Linked DNA regions of Homo sapiens: region 2 is linked to region 1. Evidence: promoter capture Hi-C in 16 types of primary human blood cells and fetal thymus (Javierre and others, 2016). All regions are on one chromosome and are shown on one strand. Each heading gives the region's core, a stretch centred on a gene start or on the middle of the fragment in contact. The rest is flanking DNA. Distances are from core to core; before and after follow the strand shown. Region 1 holds the start of MIS18A (MIS18 kinetochore protein A). Region 2 overlaps LOC124905008 (a long non-coding RNA gene).

What was found. The method cuts DNA at HindIII sites, captures the fragments that hold promoters and counts their contacts. A CHiCAGO score of 5 or more calls a contact.
Region 2: a contact is called between a fragment that was not itself captured here and the fragment with the promoter of MIS18A in region 1, in 3 of 17 cell types (erythroblasts, M2 macrophages and M1 macrophages). The highest score is 6.2, in erythroblasts.

Annotation. Positions count from the first base shown.
Region 1 is chr21:32,277,115-32,281,239 of GRCh38, forward strand. MIS18A (MIS18 kinetochore protein A) reads right to left here and starts at 1,935. Exons shown (of 5, transcript NM_018944.3): 1 at 1,567-1,935. The coding sequence starts at 1,900. It overlaps MIS18A-AS1 (MIS18A antisense RNA 1), which reads left to right and starts at 2,091. Exons shown (of 1, transcript NR_046576.1): 1 at 2,091-3,885. RefSeq lists enhancers at 1,184-1,685, 1,686-2,185, 2,129-2,348. The HindIII fragment of the contact is 2,727 bases long and covers 1-2,203 here.
Region 2 is chr21:31,736,298-31,740,422 of GRCh38, forward strand. The region is part of intron 1 of LOC124905008 (a long non-coding RNA gene); the gene reads left to right. Among named protein-coding and RNA genes, the nearest start is that of SCAF4, 6.2 kb to the left of the region's middle. The HindIII fragment of the contact is 314 bases long and covers 2,234-2,547 here.

The sequences.
Region 1 (4,125 bases), core at 685-3,184:
ATTTATTTGTCTTTACTGGGGGGTGTGGGGAGGTGTTAAATCCTATTATCTAAATCTGATAAATCAAAAAATGTATAGTTCTTTAAATTTTAAACTACTATTTTAGAACTATGTTTTAAATTTAAAAGCTATTGTTATAAAAATTAAATAACAAAAACAGTCTTTCTATAAGTAACGCAAAACAACGAAAAGAGCCCACATGGCAAAAAATACACTCTATCGAAACAAACAAATAAAATGAAAGATGTAACATCAAACACGTTATTCCTTAAAAACATGTAAACAAGGGAATCTCATTCAAACAAAGAGCTTTTCCTACCTAACCAAAAATCTGCTTTTTTCTTTTTTTTCTTTTTTGAGACGTTGTCTCGCTCTGTCTCCAGGCTGGAGTGCAGTGGCGCAATCTCGGCCCACTGCAACCTCCGCCTCCCGGGTTCAAGTGATTCTCCTGCCTCAGCCTCCGGAGTGGCTAGGATTACAGGCGCACACCACCATGCCCGGCTAATTTTTTATTTTGGCGAGGCTGATCTGGAATTTTTGTATTTTTAGTAGAGATGGGGTTTCATTCACCATGTTGGCAAGGATGGTCTCAATCTCCGGATCTCGTGATCCGCCCACTTCGGCCTCCCAAAGTGCTGGGATTACAGGCCTGAGGCACCGCGCTCGGCCTGGTTTGATTTTGATAGGTGCAAAGAGTTAATCTCAACTTTCAGTTAACTACTGGACACTGGTGTGCTCCTTTATTCCCAGTATTACACCAAGGAAAACGTTCCAGAAACGTCGATAAGCCGGTGGTGAATTACTGCCATCGGAACATTTACGGCATTCAAAGACAGAAAAAACTTCATCTTGAAAAATCACAATCCAAAAACAACAGCCATTCTTACACCAATTCATAAAAAATATGTGAACCACTTTATCCCTAAATACTGCAAAAACATCAAAATGAGGGAACAGTGGAACAACAGAGGTAAGAGGTAACTGCTAGAACCAGGATTAGAAACTAATTCCTGCCTTCTTCTGAACTCTTTTGCTACATCCTCCTTCCTCGCCAGTTTTCATGGGGTTGTTGGTGCTTTTATTGCAAGTTTCCTTCCCTTTCTTCCCTATAGCACTGTGTTCCGTCAACTCTGCGGCTCTATCACTGGAGGCTGTAGAGGCATCCGCTGATACACCAACAGCCTGCTAATTTCTATGGGGAGTAATAGTACTGGCTGCACCTCAAGTGCTTACAGTCTAGTTGACCATTTGTTTCTCTTTTTTTAGGGTCTTTAAAAGTGTTATTCTTTGTCGCCCTTTGTTTCTGAGTAATGCTCACGATGATGCTGATTCAACCACTGCTCTTCTGGGATCGGGGACCCCAGAAAAGAACCCACCGCCCGAGAGCCAAAGTGGAGGGGTGACCCTCCTCCCCTTTTCCTGCCACAGCTCACACTCTCAGACTTTTTGCTCTTAAAGTCCCTGGGCAGCCCCAAGGAGCCCCCGCCTCCTCCCGGGCCGCCCACGCGCGGCACCCCTGGAAGAAGGCGACCCCACGCCCCCCCTGCCCGGCTCGACCCAACTGACAGCGAAGCAGGATGCAGTTGGTGTCCTCCTGGCTGGCCACCCAGCTCAGCGAGTCGCCCAGCGGCCGCCGGCAGCCGGAGCACAGGAACACCAGCGGCCTCTCCTCCGCAGCCGCCGCCTCCTCCTCCAGCTGCGCCCTCTCCATGTCGGCCACCGACGCGTCTTCGCTCATGGAGCTCCACATGCTCGCCCACTTCTGCAACAGCTGGTGGCGGCTCGAGTCTTCGGAGAGTCTCTTGCCCAACAGCGAGGAGTCGCTGCATTTGCCCTTGTCGCCGCACTCACAGCCGCCAGCGCATCCTCTGCTACACCTCAGTGACCGAACGCCTGCCATTACCTACAAATCGCCCGCGCCCCAGAGCGCCATGGGAAAAAAAACCGCCGCTGCTCATGCGCGGGGCGGGGAGCGGTGGCGGAGGCCGAGAAGGGGCAAAAGCCTGAAGGGGGCGGGACGGCGGGCGGCCTCTAGTGCGCATGCGCGCCGTGCGGCCTTGGCCAAGCGTGATAGTCACTGCGCCTGCGTCAGGTTTTCCAGCCTGAAGAAATTGATGATGCAGACCTGTTTGCTTGTCTTCCTAAGGATTATTCACCCCTTTCCGTGGGAGGGGCAGCGTCACTGAGAAAGTTACGGGTTGCAAGCTTGAGTGTCTAAGAACCGCCTGGCGAGCTTCTTAAGCAGATCGCCAGGTTCCATCTTCGCAGACTCTGGTTCAGCAGGTAGCAGGTTAGCCCGAGAATCTGCATTTCTAACAAGCTCCTAGGCGTGCCCACGCTGTCAGTATTGGCAGCCCAACCTTTTTTGGGGGGTGGGGGGGGGAGTTTTTCTATGTTGCCGGTCTCGAACTCCTAGCCTTAAGCGATCTTCCCTACTCGGCCTCCCAAAATGCCAGGATCGCAAGCGTAAGCCACTGTGCCAGACCACCACCCTTTTTCTTCTTTTTTGTAAGTGGACTAATTATAGTTGTATATAAGCAGCTCCACTTTTGATGACCACTGCTCTATTTTGTCGGCTCCTGGGGACCTCCTTTCCATGAAGTGGAGAAGGAAGGGGATAGAGGAGTCCCTCATCACAGGGTCCTTTTGCGCACTGCTATCCCTGGAATGAGACCCTGGGAAGGGCCCCGGATCACTCAGGCTGTCACTGCAAGGAAAAAGTTGAGGAAGCAGCAGTGCCCCTGGAAAGCCTGGAAGTGTCCCTGCTGCTTGGATCAAGGAACAATTCGTCCTTGCAAGGAAGAAGCATCCCTTGTTGATGATAAGGACAGATTTCCTCAGCTGCCCCAGAAAGCCAGCCTCTGCCTAAAACACCGTAGGTCAGGAGGGAAAGCTGGCGGGGAACCAGCCAGCTGCACCACAGACAGTCTGGTGGTATACCTGGGAAGAAAGCTACCTGCAAGGACCTACTCTGTTCCTACTACGCTCTGGGTGTCCCCCAAGTCACTGCCTATTTTGCTTGGTTGCATAAACTATTTATGTAAATGTACTTCCAATTTTAGTGCTTACAGCCACTAGCAAAAAGCAAAAGCTTTGGAGTCAGTGGTCCTGGTTAACTTACCCCTCCCTCCACAAGGTAGTAACAGTGTAGGGAACTGTGGAAAAGGCTGTTTGCCTTCCCTGAGTCTAATTCTTCATGGAGTAAATGGAGTCTGTTTCTTCAGTACTACACCAAGTTGTTCATGAGGATCGAGTTTTCTAATATTCATGAAAATACTTTGTAAACCCTGGCACACCATGCTCATGTTAATCACCTTCTTACTGGAAGAAAATGCTTTAGATAATTTAGGCTTTTTTTTTTTACCCATAGAATTCCCTTCCTTCCTTCTGCTTTTTTTTTTCTTTTCTTTATTTTTTCAGAGATGATGTTTCAGTATGTTGCCCAGGCTGGTCTCGAACTCCTGGCCTCAAGCGATCCTCCTGCCTCAGCCTCCCAAGTAGCTGGAACTACAGGCATGCCTCACCATACTTTGCCCCTTCTACTTTTGTAGAGCCAAGCCTGACCTTCCTGGACTGTTGTTTTCAAGCATAATATCTCTGGTACAACATTGATACAATCCACATGAGTTCTTTAAGTAAGTGGCTAGTTACTTGGGGATTCAAAGGATCATCTTGTCTCAGACTTTGGGTTCCTATTGTCAATACTTAAATTCTATGATAGGATGCCCCAGGAAAGAAGGAATACAAGGCCGAGCTGCGTGGTGACTTTCAGGGGCCCTATTTTTGCCTTAGTAGGCCTTTCTCTCCATAAAACAGTTAATAAAAATTTCATTTTATAGTCACATTGCTATGAAGATGATTATATTAAAATGATATCATAAAACATTTTTAGACCTGTAAGTTCATTTATTGCTCTTGATTAAAAAAATTGAAACATTTTCATGGTCCTTCAGAATATCATGGTTTGTAGGCATGATGCCTCCTGCACATCATGGAGAAGTTGGCTGATGCAAAATGAATTCCTCTATAGGCACAAGTGTGTTTGTATTAATATTATGAATATAAAAACAAGGCTAGCCATGGTGGCTCATGCCTGTAACCCCGGCACTTTGGGAGGCTGAAGCG
Region 2 (4,125 bases), core at 1,141-3,640, 540 kb before region 1:
CATTTTCTTGAAAAGAATGCTGGCCACAATCCACAGGTATAGAGAATATGGAGAGAAAGCATCTCACGCCTGAAGAGTCCAATAAAACATTTATAGATAAGAATTTAAGAGAATATGGGTTCTTTCTGTTTTTTGTTTGTTTGTTTGTTTGTTTTTGAGACAGGGTCTTGCTCTGTCGCCCAGGCTGGAATGCACTGGTGTGATCATGGCTCACTGCAGCCTCGACCTCCTGGGCTCATACGATCCTTCCACATCAGCCTCCCAAATAGCTGAGACTACAGGTACAAGCCTCCATGCCCAGCTAATCTCCCTGTGTTGCCCAGGCTGGTCTTGAACTCCTGGGCTCAGGCAATTCTTCCATCTCAGCCTCGCAGAGTTCTAGGATTACAGGCATGAGCCACCAAACCTGGCCTAATTTTAAATTTGTTTGTGGACAGGGTCTTCCTATGTTGTCCAGGCTGGTCTTCAACTCCTGTTCTTAAGCAATCCTCCTGCCTCGGCCTCCCAAAGTGTTGGGAATATGGGTGGGAATATGAGCCACTGCACCCAGCCTTGAAAATGAGTTCTTTCTAATGCTTTATGCCATATACTTTCTGGAGAGAGTATAAACTGGCTGTATTATATGAGACTTCTTTCTCCTTGGTCTGCTTTCCTTCTCTGGCCAGCCTCCTGGATTCAAGTCATTTGTCAGATATGTGTATCGTAAATACTTCCTCCCAGTCTGTGGCTTACCTTTTCATTATCTTGCCTCCTCCTCTCTCTGAAGCTTTCCCTGACACCTCTGTGATTCTTCTTCCTCCCCACTTAGGGATGTGACTGAACTCTCTCCTGGTTTAGAACTGCATTTCAACTGCCCACTGGGGAATTCCACATGGGGATCCCTCCATCCCCAAGGGACCCACCTGACTCCTTTTGTGCATCTTCTGTCTTCATGCCCTTTATGTTGTTGGGGCCAAAACAATGGAATGAAATGTGTGGAAAGCAGGAACTCCAAGAAGGAAGAGCTCAACGGCAGTTGGGCAATGGGATTTTAGGGAATTTTCATTTTCTTTTTAATTTTTCAGCATTTTTCATACTCCTCACAGAAGGCATGTATCACTTTTTTTTTTTTTTTTGAGAAGGAGTCTCACTCTGTTGCCCAGGCTGGAGTGCAGTGGGGTGATCTCGGCTCACTGCAACCTCCACCTCCTGGTTTCAAGCGATTCTCCTGCCTCAGCCTCCTGAGCAGCTGAGATTATAGGCATCCGCCATCGTGCCTGGCTGGTTTTTTTTTTTTTTTTTTGTATTTTTAGTAGAGATGCGGTTTTGCCATGTTGGTCAGGCTGGTCTCGAACTCCTGACCTCAGGTGATCCGCCCTCCTTGGCCTCTCAATGTACTGGGATTACAGGCATGAGCCACCACACCAGGCCAGTTTTATTGTCAGAAAGAGTAAGCTCCTTAAAAAAGTAAACATACAAGTAAGTATGCAGCAAACCTAAAATGTTCTGGATGTCATCTTAGCTATGATTGCAACAGTGAGCATATGAGTAACTAATAAAGGAAAACAATTTCTCTTCATCACTTCCTATCTTACTTAGGATTAGGAATCCAAGATTCTCTTTCCAAAATGGAAAGTATTAAAAACCAGTCTCATCTGAAGTGAAATGTCACCTTTTAGGACTAGGCCACGCCAGTCCAACATTTGCTGTTTCATTCATTCAGAAAATAAATGTGTACATCTCTTGTGGACAGGCACTGTGCTAGGTGTGTGGAATACTGTGATAAGCCCAAACACAGATAAGTTCCTTCCTCGAGGAACTATTCCTCCAGAGTCTGGCACCTTGCCCTGATGTTGAGTATTTTCCATGTGTATATTGGCCATATGTATACTTTCTTTTCCTTTTTTTTTTGAGATGGGGTCTTGCTCTGTCACCCAGGCTGGAGTGCAGTGGCTGGATCTCGGCTCACTGCAACCTCCGCCTCCCAGATTCCAGTGATTCTCCTGCCTCAGCCTCCCGAATAGCTGGGATTACAGGCACATGCCACCATGCCCACCTTATTTTTGTATTTTTAGTAGAGACAGAGTTTCACCATGTTGGCCAGGCTGGTCTTGAACTCCTGACCTTGTGATCCCCCCACCTCGGCCTCCCAAAGTGCTGGGATTACAGGCGTGAGCCACCGCACCCGGCCATGTATACTTTCTTTAGTAAAGTGTTCAAATCGTTTGCCCTTTAAAAAAACGGATCATTTGGAAGCTTCAATAGGAAGCTATTGAATGATATGAGTCCTTTGTCAGATATGTGTGTTGTAAACATTTCCTCACAGTCTGTGGCTTTCCTTTTCATTTTCTTTTGAAAAGCAGATGTTTTTAATTTTGATGGATATAATTTATACTTTTTTCTTTTATGGTTTGTGCTTTTCTGTCATATTGAAAAATTTTTGCTTATCCCCAGGATATGGAAATGTTCTCCTCTATTTTCTTCTTGACTCTTTATAGCTTAGCACTTTTGTTTAAGTCTGTGATCCATTTTGATTTAATATATGTGTATGAGATAAGATAAATATCAAGCTTCATTTTTTTACATTAGGATATCTAGTTGTTCCAGCACTATTTGTTGGAAAAAAAGATCATTTCCCCCATTGAATTACTTTGCCTCCTTTGTTGAAAATCAGTTGACCACATATGTGTGGATCTAGTTCCACGTATGTGTACTCTGTTCCTTTATATATATCTATATACTTTTCTTGCATATACATAGCCCACTGTCTTAATTTCTCTAGTAATTCAAGTAAATCAGTTAAAGTCTCCAACATAGTTCTTTTAAAAATTGTTTTCACTATGCTGTAATCTTTGCATTTCTATATAAATTTTTAAATCAACTTGTTAATTTCAAAAAAAAAAAAACACCCCACACAACTGAAAACAAGACAAAATAGGAAGTATGCTGGCTAGGCGTGGTGGCTCACGCCTGTAATCCCAGCACTCTGGGAGGCCGAGGTGGGCGGATCACGAGGTCAGGAGTTTGAGACCAGCCTGGCCAACGTGGTGAACCCCCGTCTCTATTAAAGATACAAAAAATTAGCTGGTCATGGTGGCGCTCGCCTGTGCACCTGTAATCCCAGCTACTTGGGAGGCTGGGGCAGGAGAATTGCTTGAACCTGGGAGGCAGAGGTTGCAGGGAGCCGAGATCACGCCATTGCACTCCAGCCTGGGCAACAGGGTGAGACTCCGTCTCAAAAAACAAAACAACAACAACAACAACAAAAATCACAAATGGGTGTTAATGTTGTCAGATACCATGGCTATATTCATTGGGATGATTATGTGATTTTGTCTATTCTATTATATTAATGAATTACTGTGATTGGTTTTTGAATGTGAAACCAACCTGGCATTCCTATAATAAAATCCACTTGGTTATGGGATATTACTTTTTTTATATGTTGCCGGGTTCAATTTGCAAAGATTCTGTCTGTCAAAATATTTCCTTCTATATTCATGAGTGGTATTGGTGGTCTCTGTTTTCCTTTTCTTGTAATGGTTTTGGTGTCGGGGTAGCTTGCTCTCATCAAATTATTTGATAAGTGCTTCTCTCCTTCCCTGTTATCTATTTTTTTTTTTTTTTTTTTTAGATAGCGTTTTGCTCTTGTCACCCGGCTGGAGGGCAGTGGTGCGATCTTGGCTCACTGCAACCTCCTGGGTTCAAGCGATTCTCCTGCCTCAGCCTCTCAAGTAGCTGGGATTACAGGCAGCTGCCACCATGCCCAGCTAATTTTTGTATTTTTACTAGAGATGGGGTTTCACCATGTTGGCCAGGCTGGTCTCGAACTCCTGACCTCAGGTGATCCACCTGCCTCGGCCTCCCAAAGTGCTGGGATTACAGGTGTGAACCACCACACCCGACCTCCTTCTCTATTTTCTAAAATAGCCTGTGTGGAATTGATATTATTTCTTTCTTAAGATTTGTTAGAATTCACCAATGAAGCCACTTGGGCCTAAAGTTTTGCTTATGAGAGGGTTTTATATTAATCAATTTTTAAAATTGATATAGTGTTCTTCAGGTCTTCTGTTTCTCGAGGGAGTTTTGATCATTTGTATTTTTTTCAGAAAATTGTCCATTTAAAGGTTGTCAATTTATTGCATA